Linked DNA regions of Homo sapiens: region 1 is linked to region 2. Evidence: promoter capture Hi-C in 16 types of primary human blood cells and fetal thymus (Javierre and others, 2016). All regions are on one chromosome and are shown on one strand. Each heading gives the region's core, a stretch centred on a gene start or on the middle of the fragment in contact. The rest is flanking DNA. Distances are from core to core; before and after follow the strand shown.

The links. The method cuts DNA at HindIII sites, captures the fragments that hold promoters and counts their contacts. A CHiCAGO score of 5 or more calls a contact.
Region 1: a fragment that was not itself captured here is called in contact with the fragment with the promoter of KCND1 in region 2 in 1 of 17 cell types (total B cells); the score reaches 5.5 in total B cells.

Annotation. Positions count from the first base shown.
Region 1 is chrX:49,023,451-49,029,979 of GRCh38, reverse strand. It overlaps TFE3 (transcription factor binding to IGHM enhancer 3), which reads left to right. Exons shown (of 10, transcript NM_006521.6): 10 at 1-1,254. Among named protein-coding and RNA genes, the nearest start is that of TFE3, 17 kb to the left of the region's middle. The HindIII fragment of the contact is 721 bases long and covers 943-1,663 here.
Region 2 is chrX:48,970,391-48,977,823 of GRCh38, reverse strand. It overlaps KCND1 (potassium voltage-gated channel subfamily D member 1), which reads left to right and starts at 5,980. Exons shown (of 6, transcript NM_004979.6): 1 at 5,980-7,433. It overlaps GRIPAP1 (GRIP1 associated protein 1), which reads left to right. Exons shown (of 26, transcript NM_020137.5): 23 at 1,461-1,583; 24 at 1,713-1,806; 25 at 2,515-2,669; 26 at 3,539-4,101. The coding sequence ends at 3,631. The HindIII fragment of the contact is 6,364 bases long and covers 5,533-7,433 here.

The DNA of each region.
Region 1 (6,529 bases), core at 54-2,553, 57 kb before region 2:
CCCTGCACCTTCCCCAAAGGAACCGCCCAGTGCAGGTATTTCAGAAGGAGAAGGCTGGAGAAGGACATGAGATCAGGGCCTGCCCCCTGGGGATCACAGCCTCACCCCTGCCCCTGTGGGACTCATCCTTGCCCAGGTGAGGGAAGGAGACAGGATGAGGTCTCGACCCTGTCCCCTAGGGACTGTCCTAGCCAGGTCTCCTGGGAAAGGGAGATGTCAGGATGTTGCTCCATCCTTTGTCTTGGAACCACCAGTCTAGTCCGTCCTGGCACAGAAGAGGAGTCAAGTAATGGAGGTCCCAGCCCTGGGGGTTTAAGCTCTGCCCCTTCCCCATGAACCCTGCCCTGCTCTGCCCAGGCAAGGAACAGAAGTGAGGATGAGACCCAGCCCCTTCCCCTGGGAACTCTCCTGGCCTTCTAGGAATGGAGGAGCCAGGCCCCACCCCTTCCCTATAGGAACAGCCCAGCACAGGTATTTCAGGTGTGAAAGAATCAGTAGGACCAGGCCACCGCTAGTGCTTGTGGAGATCACAGCCCCACCCTTGTCCCTCAGCAACATCCCATCTAAGCATTCCACACTGCAGGGAGGAGTGGTACTTAAGCTCCCCTGCCTTAACCTGGGACCAACCTGACCTAACCTAGGAGGGCTCTGAGCCAACCTTGCTCTTGGGGAAGGGGACAGATTATGAAATTTCATGGATGAATTTTCCAGACCTATATCTGGAGTGAGAGGCCCCCACCCTTGGGCAGAGTCCTGCCTTCTTCCTTGAGGGGCAGTTTGGGAAGGTGATGGGTATTAGTGGGGGACTGAGTTCAGGTTACCAGAACCAGTACCTCAGTATTCTTTTTCAACATGTAGGGCAAGAGGATGAAGGAAGGGGCTATCCTGGGACCTCCCCAGCCCAGGAAAAACTGGAAGCCTTCCCCCAGCAAGGCAGAAGCTTGGAGGAGGGTTGTAAAAGCATATTGTACCCCCTCATTTGTTTATCTGATTTTTTTATTGCTCCGCATACTGAGAATCTAGGCCACCCCAACCTCTGTTCCCCACCCAGTTCTTCATTTGGAGGAATCACCCCATTTCAGAGTTATCAAGAGACACTCCCCCCTCCATTCCCACCCCTCATACCTACACCCAAGGTTGTCAGCTTTGGATTGCTGGGGCCAGGCCCCATGGAGGGTATACTGAGGGGTCTATAGGTTTGTGATTAAAATAATAAAAGCTAGGCGTGTTTGATGCGCTTTTAACTTTGGCAAAGAGTCTCCTGTCCTTGTTTTACACTGTGCAGTGAACATAGCCCATGCAGGCCAAGAGGGATAAAAGTCCTTGGGAGAAACAGATTCCAGAAGGATGGATAAAAGAATTTAGAAAGGAAGAGGGCATGGAGGAAGACAATATGCAAACAAAAGACAGTATTTTTAAAGACCAATCACCAGGCACAATTTTAACTGCTGCAAGTGTTTCATCTAATTTATTTCTCTAAAGGGATGTTAGTCAGAACATGCTGCTTCTTACTTCCATTTGGTCTTTGAAGAAGCTGAGGAATAGAATTGAACTGTTCTGAAGATATGCAAGCCTGTAAATGGGTGAGGCGGTAAAACAGTAAAGTCAGGTGAGTGAGGGCTCGATTGAAAAATGCCACTGAGGGCAGAGGGGGAAAGAAGCTTTTCTTGCAAATCCACTTTTGAAACTGATAAAGAAGTCTATGAGGATATTTCCTGGCAGACAACAGAGGTATTTAAGATGGTGGAAAGGACAAAGACAAATATCTGAAAGGCAGAGGAACAAGCAACCAACTGAATTTTGGAACAGATGTTGAGATTTTGGGAGAATTTAAATGAACACAAGTATCTTCTTGAAGGCTGGGAAAAAGTATTTTCCCGCAATTTCTCAACCAGACACTGACTCCTAGAACAAGCATCAGGCCTGGTCCCTCCATTTCCCCCACCAGACTGTGACCTCTGAGGGCTGGAACTGGGCTTGGTCACCGTGACTACCCTAGACTGTGACCACCATACTTGTTATCTCTTTTTTTTTTTTTTGAGACAATCTCGCCCTGTCACCCAGGCTGGAGTGCAGTGGCATGATCTCGGCTCACTGCAACCTCTGCCTCCCAGGTTCAGGTAATTATCTTGTCTCAACCTCTCTAGTTGCGATTACAGGCATCTGCCACCACACCCAGCTAATTTTTTGTGTTTTTAGTAGAGACGGGGTTTCACCATGATGGCCAGGCTGGTTTCGAACTCCTGACCTCAAGTGATCTGCCTGCCTCGGCCTCCCAAAGTGCTGGGATTAGAGGTGTAAGCCACCACACCCGACCCTTGCTAGCTCTTTCTAACCTATCACACTGCTACCCCTCCAAGCCTGGTTGCTGAATCTCTGTAACCAGACTGATGGCTCCCTAATAACCTTTATTTTTTCTCCTCAACTTTGCTGTACTCTCTCTCTTTTTTTTTTTTTTTTTTTTTTGAAACGGAGTCTCACTCTATTGCCCAGACTGGAGTGCAGTGGCATGATCTCTGCTAACTGCAACCTCTGCCTCCCAGGTTCAAGCGATTCACGTGCCTCAGCCTCCCAAGTACCTGGGATTACAGACGCGCAACCACGCCCAGCTAATTTTTGTATTTTTAGTAGAGACAGGGTCTCACCATGTTGCCCAGGCTAGTCTCAAACTCCTGGCCTCAAGTGATATACCTGCCGTGGCCTCCCAAAGTGGGATTACAGGCATAAACCACCATACCTGGCCCTATACTCTCTTATTTTATTTTATTTTATTTTATTTTATTTATTTATTTATTTATTTTGAAACAGGGTTTCCCTCTGTCACCCAGGCTGGGGTGCAATGGCGCGATCTCAGCTCACTGCAACCTCCGCCTCCCGGGTTCAAGCGATTCTCCTGCCTCAGCCTCCTGAGTACCTGGGATTACAGGCATGTGCCACCACACCTGGCAAATTTTAGGTACTTTTCTTTTTTTTTATATGGAGTCTCGCTCTTTTGCCCAAGCTGGAGTGCAGTGGCACGGTCTCGGCTCACTGCAACCTCCACCTCCCAGGCTCAAGCAATTCTCCTGCCTCAGCCTCCCGAGTAGCTGGGATTACAGGCACCTGTCACCGCGCCTGGCTAATTTTTGTATTTTTATTAGAGACAGGATTTCACCATGTTGGTCAGGCTGGTCTCAAACTCCTGACCTCGTGATCGCCCACTTCGGCCTCCCAGAGTGCTGGAATTACAGGGGTGAGCTACTGTGCCCGGCCTTTTTTTTTTTTTTTTAAAGACAGAGTCTCGCTCTGTCGTCCAGGCTGGAGTGCAATGGTGCGATCTCGGCTCACTGCAACCTCTGCCTCCCAGGTTCAAGTGATTCTCCTGCCTCAGCCTTGCGAGTAGCTGGGATTACAGACATGTGCCACTACTGCTCAGCTAATTTTTGTATTTTTAGTAGAGATGGGGTTTCACCATGTTGGCCAGGCTGGTCTTGAACTCCTGACTTCAAATGATCCGCCTGCCTTGGCCTCCCAAATTGCTGGGATTACAGACATGAGCCACGGCCCCTGGCCCAATCTTTTGTACTTTTAGCAGAGACCAAGGTTTCACCATGTTGGTCAGGCTGGTCTCGCATTCGTGACCTCAGATGATTCGCCCGCCTCGGCCTCCCAAATTGTTGGGATTACAGGCATGAGCCACCGTGCCTGGCCTCTTCTTTATTTTTTAAACGTAACATGTAATGCCCAGAGGTTTTTTTTTGGGGGGGGAAGGGGGTACAGGGTCTCACTGTCACCCAGACTGGAGTGCAGTGGCATGATCTTGGCTCACCACAACTTCCAACTCCCAGGTTCAAGCGATTCTCCTGCCTCAGCCTCCCGAGTAGCTGGGATTACAGACACATGCCACTACTGCCCGGCTAATTTTTGTATTTTTAGTAGAGATGGGTTTTCACCATGTTGGCCAGGCTGGTTTTGAACTCCTGATCTCAAATGATCCAACTGCCTCGGCCTCCCAAAGTGCTGGGATTACAGGTGTGAGCCACTGCACCTGGCCTCCCAGAGGTGTGTTTTTTTGTTTTTGTTTTTGTTTTTGTTTGAGGCGAAGTCTCACTCTGTCGCCCAGGCTGGAGTGCAATGGTGGGATCTTGGCTCATTGCAACCTCCGGCTCCTGGGTTCAAGCCATTCTCCTGCCCTAGCCTCCCAAGTAGCTGGGACTACAGGCGCACACCACCACGCCCGGCTAATTTTTTTGTATTTTTAGTAGAGATGGGGTTTCACCACGTTAGCCAGGATGGTCTTGATCTCCTGACCTCGTGATCCACCCGCCTCAGCCTCCCAAAGTGCTGGGATTACAGGCGTGAGCCACCGTACCTGGCCTCCCAGAGGTTTTTTAACAGTTTTTCTGAAATAATTTTAGATTTACAGAAGAGTTGCATCACCATTAGTGAGCTTTCATACCTGTCACCCACCTCCCCCTAATGTTAACATTCTACGTAACCATGGCACATTTATCAGTGCTAAGAAAATAACATTGGGCCGGGCGTGGCGGCTCACGCCTGTAATCCCAGCACTTTGGCAGGCTGAGGCAGGCGGATCACAAGGTCAGGAGATCGAAACCGTCCTGGCTAACACGGTGAAACCCCGTCTCTACTAAAAATATAAAAAATTAGCTGGGTGTGGTGGCGAGCACCTGTAGTCCCAGCTACTCGGGAGGCTAAGGCAGGAGAATGGCATGAACCCAGGAGGCTGGCAGTGAGCCGAGATTGCGCCACTGCACTCCAGCCTGGGCGATAGAGCGAGACTCCATCTCAAAAAAAATAAAAAATAAAAAAAAAAATAAGATTGGTAGAGTACTATTAACTCAACTTCAGACTTTATTTGGATTTCACTGGCTTTTCCACTAACGTCTTTTCTGTGCTAGGATCCAAGTAAGTATGCCGTACTACTTATTCCTGTGAAACAAATGACCACAATCTTAGTGGCTCCAAACAATACACATAAATTATCTCTCAGGTTTTGCAAGTCAGGAATCCAGGCTGGGTTCAGCTGGGTCCTCAGCTTCAGCCTCTCTCACTAAGGCACAATCGAGGAAGGAGTTGGGCAGGATTGAGGACTTCTCTGAACGTGCGACCGGGGAAGGATCTGCTCTGTGCTCCCATATTTGTTGGCAGGATCCGGTTCTCTGCAGCCTGTTGGACAGAGGGCCCCAGTTCCTTGCTGGCTGTTAGCCAGAGGTGCCCACCATCCACACCATGTGTGCCTTTCCATGCAGTGGCTCACAGCATGGTAGTTTGCTTCATCCAAGCCAGCGAGAGAAAGAGTTGGCTAGCAAAACAGAGGTCACATCTCTTGTGATCTAATTATGGAAGTGATATCCCCTCAAGGTTGAGGCATTCTGTTACTTGCAAAGAAGTTACTAAAGGGGAGGGGATTACACAAGACCAAGAATATAGCAGGCAGGGAGCACTGGTTGAGGGCATCTCAGAAGGCACCTACCATAGATACTATGTTGTACTAAGTGGTCCTATCTTCTTGGTTTTTGCAGACGGTTTCTCAGTCTGTCTACTGAGAAGTCCTACAAATCATGCTATCCCAGAAACAATGAGCACATCTAGTGGCCAGATCTTGGTTTCTTTTTTGTTGTTGTTGTTGAGACAGAGTTTCACCCTTGTCACCCAGGCTGGAGTGCAATGGCGCAATCTTGGCTCACTGCAACCTCCGCCTCCTGGGTTCAAGCGATTCTCCTGCCTCAGCCTCCTGAGTAGCTGGGACTACAGGCGCTGCCCACCACGCCTGACTACTTTTTGTATTTTTAGTAGAGACAGGGTTTCGCCGTGTTGGCCAGGCTGGTCTTGAACTCCTGACCTCAGGTGATCTGCCCATCTTGGCCTCGCAAAGTGCTGGGATTACAGGTCTGAGCCACCGCGCCTGGCCTGGACCTTGGTTTCTAAATGCCATTCTCCAATAAAAGAAACCAGTGCTCCTGGAAAAATGGCTGATTTTCAGTCTGGGGTGGAGAGAAATACAAGATGAGCCTGGAGCATCCTGTAGTGACAGAAAGTAAGGAAATGCCTAAAACCAATGATGGAGGCTAGGCATGGTGGCTCACACCTGTAATCCCAGCACTTTGGGAGGCCAAGACGCATGGATCACCTGGGGTCAGGAGTTTCAGACCAGCCTGGCCAACATGGTGAAACCCCGTCTCTACTAAAAATACAAAAAATTAGCCGGGTGTGGTGGGGGGCACCTGTAATCCCAGCTACTCAGGAGGCTGAGGCAGGAGAATTGCTTGAACCTGGGAGGCAGAGGTTGCAGTGAGCCGAGATCATGCCATTGCACTCCAGCCTGGGCAACAAGAGCAAAACTCCATCTCAAAAAAAAAAAAAAAAAAACAAACAAACAAAAAAGCAATGATTGCAGCATGTCATAAGATACAGAAGCCAACCTGAAAGAACTCCTGGTCAGGTGCGGTGGCTCACGTCTGTAATCCCAGCACTTTGGGAGGCCAAGGTGGGCGGATCATGAGGTCAAGAGATCAAGACCATCCTG
Region 2 (7,433 bases), core at 4,731-7,230:
TGGCTCATCCCTATAATCCTACACTTTGGGAGGCCAAGGTGGGCGGATCACTTGAGCTCAGGAGTTTAAGACCAGCCTGGGAAACGTGGTAAAACTCCGACTCTATTTAAAAAAAAAACAAAAACAAAAAAACCTTAAATGTCAAAAAAAAATAATATTTTCACCATCCAGACGTCACCATTATAAATTCTTAGTTCAGGGCTGGGCGCGGTGGCTCATGCCTGTAACCCTAGCACTTTGGGAGGCTGAGGCGGGCAGATCACTTGAGGTTAGGAGTTTGAGAACTGGCCTGGCCAACATAGCAAAACCTCATCTCTACTAAAATACAAAAATTAGCCGGGCGTGGTGGTGCGTGCCTGTAGTCCCAGCTACTCGAAAGGTTGAGGCAAGAGAATCGCTTGAACCTGGGAGGTGGAGGTTGCAATGAGCCGAGATCACACCACTGCACTCCAGCCTGGGCAACAGTGAAACTCCATCTCAAAAAATAAATAAATAAAATAAATTCTTAGTTCATACCCTTCCAGAATTCTCTCTCTTTTTAAAACCTAGATGAGATTAACCTGTTTTTTATTCAACTGTTGTCTCTACCTTCCCAATTTGATCAATTTTCATGTCATTGGCTGGGTGCGGTGGCTCCTGCCTATAATCCCAGTACTTTGGGAGGCCGAGGCGGGCAGATCACTTGAGGTCAGGAGTTCAAGACCAGCCTGGCCAACATGGTGAAACCCCATCTCTACTAAAAATACAAAAATTAGCTGGGCGTAGTGGCGCGTGCCTGTAATTCCATCTACTCGGGAGGCTGAGGCAGGAGAATCGCTTGATCCTGGGAGTTGGAGGTTGCAGTGAGCCAAGATCTTGCCATTGCACTCCAGCCTGGGCAACAAGAGTGAAATTCTGTCTCAAAAAAAAAAAAAAAATTCATGTCGTCTGATACTTTGACCTTAACCAGATTTCTCTAGTTGGCCCCAGAATGTCCTTTCTTGCTGGTTTTATGAAAACTAGCATTCAGATTCAGAGCACATGTTACATCTGGTTGTTTTATGGCCCTTAAATCTCTTTAGTGCGGTCCCTTTTTTCCTGAGACCAATTTGTTGAAGAGGCCAGCCCAGTCACCCCACAGGAAGTATGCTACCTTTTGGGTTTTTCTGCTGGCTTCCTGGTGGTATGATTTAACATGTCCCTCTCTTCCAGTTTTCCTGTCAGCTGAAAGTTAGATCTCATTTGCTTTGGGATCTTCCTTCAATCCTCTCCACAAGGCTCTGATGTGGTTACTCTCTACCCCCATTTAGGCAGAGGAGAAAACAGAGTCTGAGGGTACCAAGATGGGCCAACAGTCCCAGCTTCAGGGCCCATGTTCTCTCACCCACCTCTGGCCTGGTTCTCCTCCCCAGTCCCTGACACCTGTCTGGGGTCGGTGGTGCTGAGCCCGGGGCTGGCCTCTCCCCTTCTCTTTCCTGCAGTCCTTATCCAGCAGCCCTCAAGCCCAGCCCCCTCGGCCAGCAGAGCTGTCAGATGAGGAAGTGGCTGAGCTCTTTCAGCGGCTGGCAGAGACACAGCAGGAGAAATGGATGCTGGAGGAGAAGGTGCTGCCTGCCTGCCTGCCTGCCCATCCCCACTTGAAGTGCCCTTGTGGGTGTGGGGTCTGCCCGGGCCCGCCTCATGTGTGAACATGTACAGTAGAGGGGTCTCAGGTGGGCTGGGCCATCTTGCAGGTGAAGCACCTGGAAGTGAGCAGTGCTTCCATGGCAGAGGACCTCTGCCGGAAGAGCGCCATCATTGAGACCTACGTCATGGACAGCCGGATCGGTCAGTGTCCCCTCCCCGGCCCTCAGCCCTGGTCCAGCCTTCACCTGGCCCTCCCTCTCCATTCTGTGCTGCGGCTTCTCTCCTCTCCTCTCGGAACTCAGCGAAGCTACTGACAAGACCATGGCCTGTGGAGGGGAGAACAGGAAAGCACTGTCTCTTGATCTCGCCTCCTCCCTCTTCTCTCTTTCTCTGTCATCTCTCCACTCTCCATTCTCCATTGTGTCTCTCTGTCCACTTTCTCCTTTCCTCTCCCTGTGCCTCATCTTCCTCTCCTCTCTCTCTCCCTTCTCTCTTCTCCGTTTCTCTTTTTCACCCCACTCCTTCATCTTGTCTCGCTGTCTATATTGTTTTCCTTCTCTGTATCTTCATTGCTTTTGCTTTCTTTCAAACTTTCTCCTTCACAGATTTTTCTTTATTAATCAGAATCATACTGACCAACATGTGCTGAGGACTTTCTGTGTGCTCTGTGCTTCACATACAGTCATGTGCATCTTTCCAGTTCCACAAGTTAGTTATCCTCATTTCTCGGGGCCATAGAGCTAGTGAGTGACAGAGCTAGGTTTTGTATGTCAAAGCCTCTGTCCTACATGACATGGCTTTTCCTGCTGCCTTCTCCCCTGGTATTCGTCTCCCTCTTTTCTCCTCTGGCTCTGCCTGGCTCTCCTCTGGCTCTGCCGAGGGGGTGGTTTTCAGCCTGGGCCCTTGCAGATGTGTCTGTGGCAGCAGGCCACACAGACCGCAGCGGGCTGGGCAGCGTCCTGAGAGACCTAGTGAAGCCAGGTGACGAGAACCTTCGGGAGATGAACAAGAAGCTGCAGAACATGCTGGAGGAGCAGCTCACCAAGAATATGCACTTGCACAAGGCAAGTGTGGCCTGCCAGCCTACCCATCTGTTCACCCAGCCACCTGCCTACCCAGCCACATAGCCCCTGGGTCATCTGCCAGTCCCCTTGCCCACCCACCCAGCCTGTCCTCCCAGCTATCCTCCTACCCACTCATCAACTACTCCATCATGCTCTCATCTTCCACCCTCTCATCAACTTATTATCCATTCATTCCTTCCATGTACCCGCTCATCCATTTATCTACACATTCACCCAACCATTTGCCCATCTGTCCATCTACCCAATCTACTACTTACTTATCTCATTGTCTACCCCATGTCCTGCCACCCATTTCTTGACATATCATTCTCTTATCTACTCATCAATTGCCCCTTGTGTTACCTTTCACCCACCCAGTTACCTGCCTGCCCACCTGTTGATCTCCATCTGTCCTCTGGACAATTCATTCGTCCACCAATTTGTCTACCATAGATCCCCCATGCCCATGGGTCCACACACACATCTTTCTGCCCAAACTGCCACCCAAGGACTTTCCCCATCTCTGAGAGTTAGAAAGGGGTCAGACCCAGCTCCTGCCTTTGAGAAGCAAGCTCACACTTAGAAGAGCAGGTGGCCAGAGTGGTGGTGTATCCTGCAGCAGCACCATGCCACAGGAGGCATCCCACTCCCATTATCTGTAGCTCCCCACCCATCCTCATGACTTTTCTGAGCCCTGCCCACTGTTGGGGGTGCTGTGAGCTTCTCCAAGTACCTTCTCATCCCAGGCCAGACACAGCTGAGCATTGATTAATGAAAGGGTGTGAGGGAAATCACAGATGATACCCTACGTTTGGCAAGGGAGCAGCCTGTCCCCTTCTCTGGCCCCTGATGGTTCATTTGTTTCTTAGGATATGGAAGTTCTGTCCCAGGAAATTGTGCGGCTCAGCAAGGAGTGCGTGGGGCCTCCTGACCCAGACCTAGAGCCAGGAGAAACCAGCTAAAGACCTGCAGGCTGCACCCACCTCCTCCCCTTCCTACCCCCTAGGATGCTATTCCCTTGGGCTGTGGTGGAAAAATGAGGGCTGGAGCCAAAATCAAATAGCTTGGGAGACTGGACATTAAAGGGGCTAGAGGCCTGATGGTTAGTGTTAATGATCCTGTCTTAGGGCAGAGGCCACCAGGGAGTGGGGATCCTGAGGGAAGGGGCAGGGATTTCTCCTTCTTCTTGGTCCTGGCTCCCAAGGGCTTCTGTCTTCATCTCTGCATGAGCTCTCCTTCCCAGAGACCAACTCTTTTTATTTTATTTTATTTTATTTTTTAATTTATGTCTGGAGCCTGGCTACTCTGCATTTGGGATTGGGGATGCTGGGTGGGTGTGTGGTCCATGTTCAGCGTTCTAGCAACACGTGTGTGTGTGTGTGTGTAAAGGCTATGCAGCCAAAATACCATCTGGCCAGACGGGCCCACCCACTGACTGTCTCGTCTCGTTCTTTTCAACCAGGAGGAATATGCTGGGGGCGGGGAGGTTTACACCATTGGAATAGGGAGAGAGGTCTCTGGCTGCAACGTTACTCTCTTTTCCCCACCCTCATCCAGCCTGTCTCCATTTACTGCTGACCAGCCCCTCAAACTGAGTGGAGCTGAAATACCTGCAGATATGTACATGGGTAGACATGTATGGGATTGTGGGTATAGATGAGTAGACAGATGGGAGGATGGATAAGTGGTTGGATGGACCGATGGATGTATAAGTGAACGGTTGCATGGACTGATGATGGATAGATTGGGAAATAAATGGATGGATGGATAGGTGGTTAGATGAATAAATGGGTAGATAGATTGGTAGGTGGATAGAGGATGGATAGTAGAGATGTAAATGGACAGATGGATAATAGGTCTATGGACAAATGGGTGGATGATTTAGGTAGACAGGTGGATGGATGGGTTTATGGACAGGTTAGGAGTAAATGGACCAATGGTTGGGGGAATGGATGGATGGGTAGATGAGCTAATGAATGGGAAGGGTAAAGAGTGGGAGAAGAAATGACAAGTGGAGCTATGTATGGACAGAGATGGGCAGAGGATGTCACCCTGCATGTGTTCCGGGTGGGAAGAGATGGGCAGAGGATGGATACATACAGATAGATTGGCAAACAGCCAAATGGGGTGAACTTACAAATGGATGAATGAGTGGGTGGGTAGATTAACGACTAAGTGGACGGGTGGGTGGAGGGATGGATAGAGGAATTGATTGTGTGGGTGGGAGAATGGGTGGATGGGTAGGTGGAGGAATGGATGTAGAAATGGACAAATCAGGAGTGTGCCAAATGGGCAATTGGAAGTTTACACGGGTGGGTAAATCTTGGGTGAAAGGCTAGGCCTGGCCCTGCATTACAGTGCCCCTGTCATCACACTCCTTTAATTAAGATTAAGCATCCCTGGTGTGAGCTGTGTCCAGTGCTATCACCTTTCACATCATGTAATGCTCCAAATGACGCTATCAAGTTGGGATAAGTCTCTCCATCTGACAACTGAGGAAACAATGCAAGTCACTTGCTCAAGGATGCAGCAAGTCAGTGGCAAAGCTGGGGTTTGAACCCACCCATAGCCAGCCAGAGGCATTCCATAATCAGTGCTCCTGCCATCCAGAAGCAGAGCCCTCTAGCGGAGGAGGTGTGATTTGAGGCCACTGGATATGGACAGATAAGAGAGACTACCCCCTCGGAGTGGGGCCTGCCTGAGATGGTAGGGGGGTGGGACCTGGATTGTCCCCCTCTACATTCCCTTTACCCTCATTTCATATCTAAAAACAGGAAGTCCCGTGCTCCAATCCCACAGCCGAAGTCTTAGAGCTGGGGCTGTAACCCATGCTGCGCCCCTCAAGGGGGCGGCTTCGGAAGCTTGGCCATCTAGAGAAACACTCCCCAGCAATTACCCCCGACTCCTGGCTCTCCTGCCTTTCCACAGTCTGGGGGGCAGGGAGGGGACAGCGCTGCATCATTCCCTGTGGCACTCCGCTCTGGGGCCATTAACAGACGCCTTCCCATCGATCGGATCTGCTAAGTGCTGCTGATTCAGGCGAGTGGGGGTGGGGGCCCCTGGGGGCAGAGCGGGTAGGAGCTGGGCAGGAAGAGAGGGGAGTCCAGGAAGGAGGTGGAGAGAATTGGCGAAGTTCCCTGCCACCCCCATTTTCCAGATGACGCGACTGAGGCCCAACCAGCTTTGTAGGAGGCGGAGTCTCCCCAGGGTCCCTCTCTGGCTGTCCTAGGGGAGGGGGCTCAGGGAGCCACGAGGCCCCTCCCTGCCTCTCCATCTCCCGGCAAGCTCAGAGGGGCGGGGAGAGAGAGCCAGAGGAGGAGGAGAACTCAGGCAGCTCTGCAGAGGGGGCCAGGAGCTCGGGTGTTTGGTACCCCCAGCCCCACCGCTGTTGCTGCTCCTGCAGCGGGGACACAGGTGAGGACGCCCCGAGAGAGAGGGGGAGGGGGACCACCACTAGCGCTGTCCTCATCCTTCCCTGGTCCAGCCCCCACGCCCTAACCCATCCTGGGATAGTCCCCAGGGGTCCCACTGGACCTTGCCCTTCCCAGGCCTCCTTCCAGGGACCCCGCACCCTCCCCCTGCCTATGCCACCTTCTCTCCTATGCCTGGCTGTGGTTGCTTCTCTTCCTCCTGCTGCCGCTGCTGCTACTGCCACTGCCCAGTACACACCGCCAGCCCCTCGGGGTGTGGTTTCCCCAGACCTGCCCCCAACGGTGGGACCCAGCCTTCTCCCGGCGTCTCCTGCCAGCTTCCTGCAAAGCCCAGGAGCCCCCCTCCCTGGAGACACACCCAACTCCCTTTCAACACCCCACCCCCCTCTTAATCCCATTTTGGGGTTAACCCCCTTCCTCTTATTTAGTCTTCATAGATCCCCTGGGTGCTCTGGGATTGTGCCCAACTTCCTAACATTTGAGTCCCGGCCCTTGGAATTCCCCAGGCCCCTTTTTCCTCCCTGTAGAACTCCTGAGAGTGTCGACCAGGCTTTGTTGGCCCGTCTAGATACCCACCTCCCCCAGATAACTCTCAGCCTCTCAAAAAATAACCCAGCCCCCTGTCTACCCCTTTAGATAACCCCTTCCCCTCTCCAGCCCTACTAGGAGGCTCTGGCCTCTCCTTTCTTCCCCAGAACTCCTGTAGAGTATAGACACCCCCCCGGGCTATTCTTGGCAACTCTAGGCAGTCCCAAGACACCTTTCAGCCTCTTTACAACCTCCTGGATCCACAGCCACCCCTCAAGATGCACCAGCTCCCTTTCCAGATCCATGAGGGGGGTCTAACCCTCTTATGCTTCCCCTAGAAGTCTTGAGGGTGTGGACAACCCTCCTCACCTGTCTCAGCCCCTCTAGAACCCCCACTTCCAGGCACTCTCAGTCTCTTTCAAGCACCTCTGGTCCCATTTCTACCCCTCTGGATGCCCCAGTCTCCTCTCCACCACTGCAAAGGAATTCCAGGCTCTTCTGCCTTCCCTGAGACTCTTGAGAGTGCAGAGAATTCCCCACGTGTTTCTTGGCCCCTCTAGACGCCCCCAGACACCTCTCAGGCACAGGCTGACTCCTTTAGAATCATCTCAGTCTCTCTAAACCCTCCCTCAGCTCCTTCTTGGCCCCATCCCCACACCCCTTTTCTGCTCTTCTCCATGTCCCCAAGGCCCTTCTCAGTCCCTCAGAACATTGCCCAGGCCCCTCCTAGGTTCTGTAAATGTCCCCCAGACTCCTTCCCATCTCTTTAGTTCTTCCTCCTGGTTCCTCTTGGCCTCTCTAGACA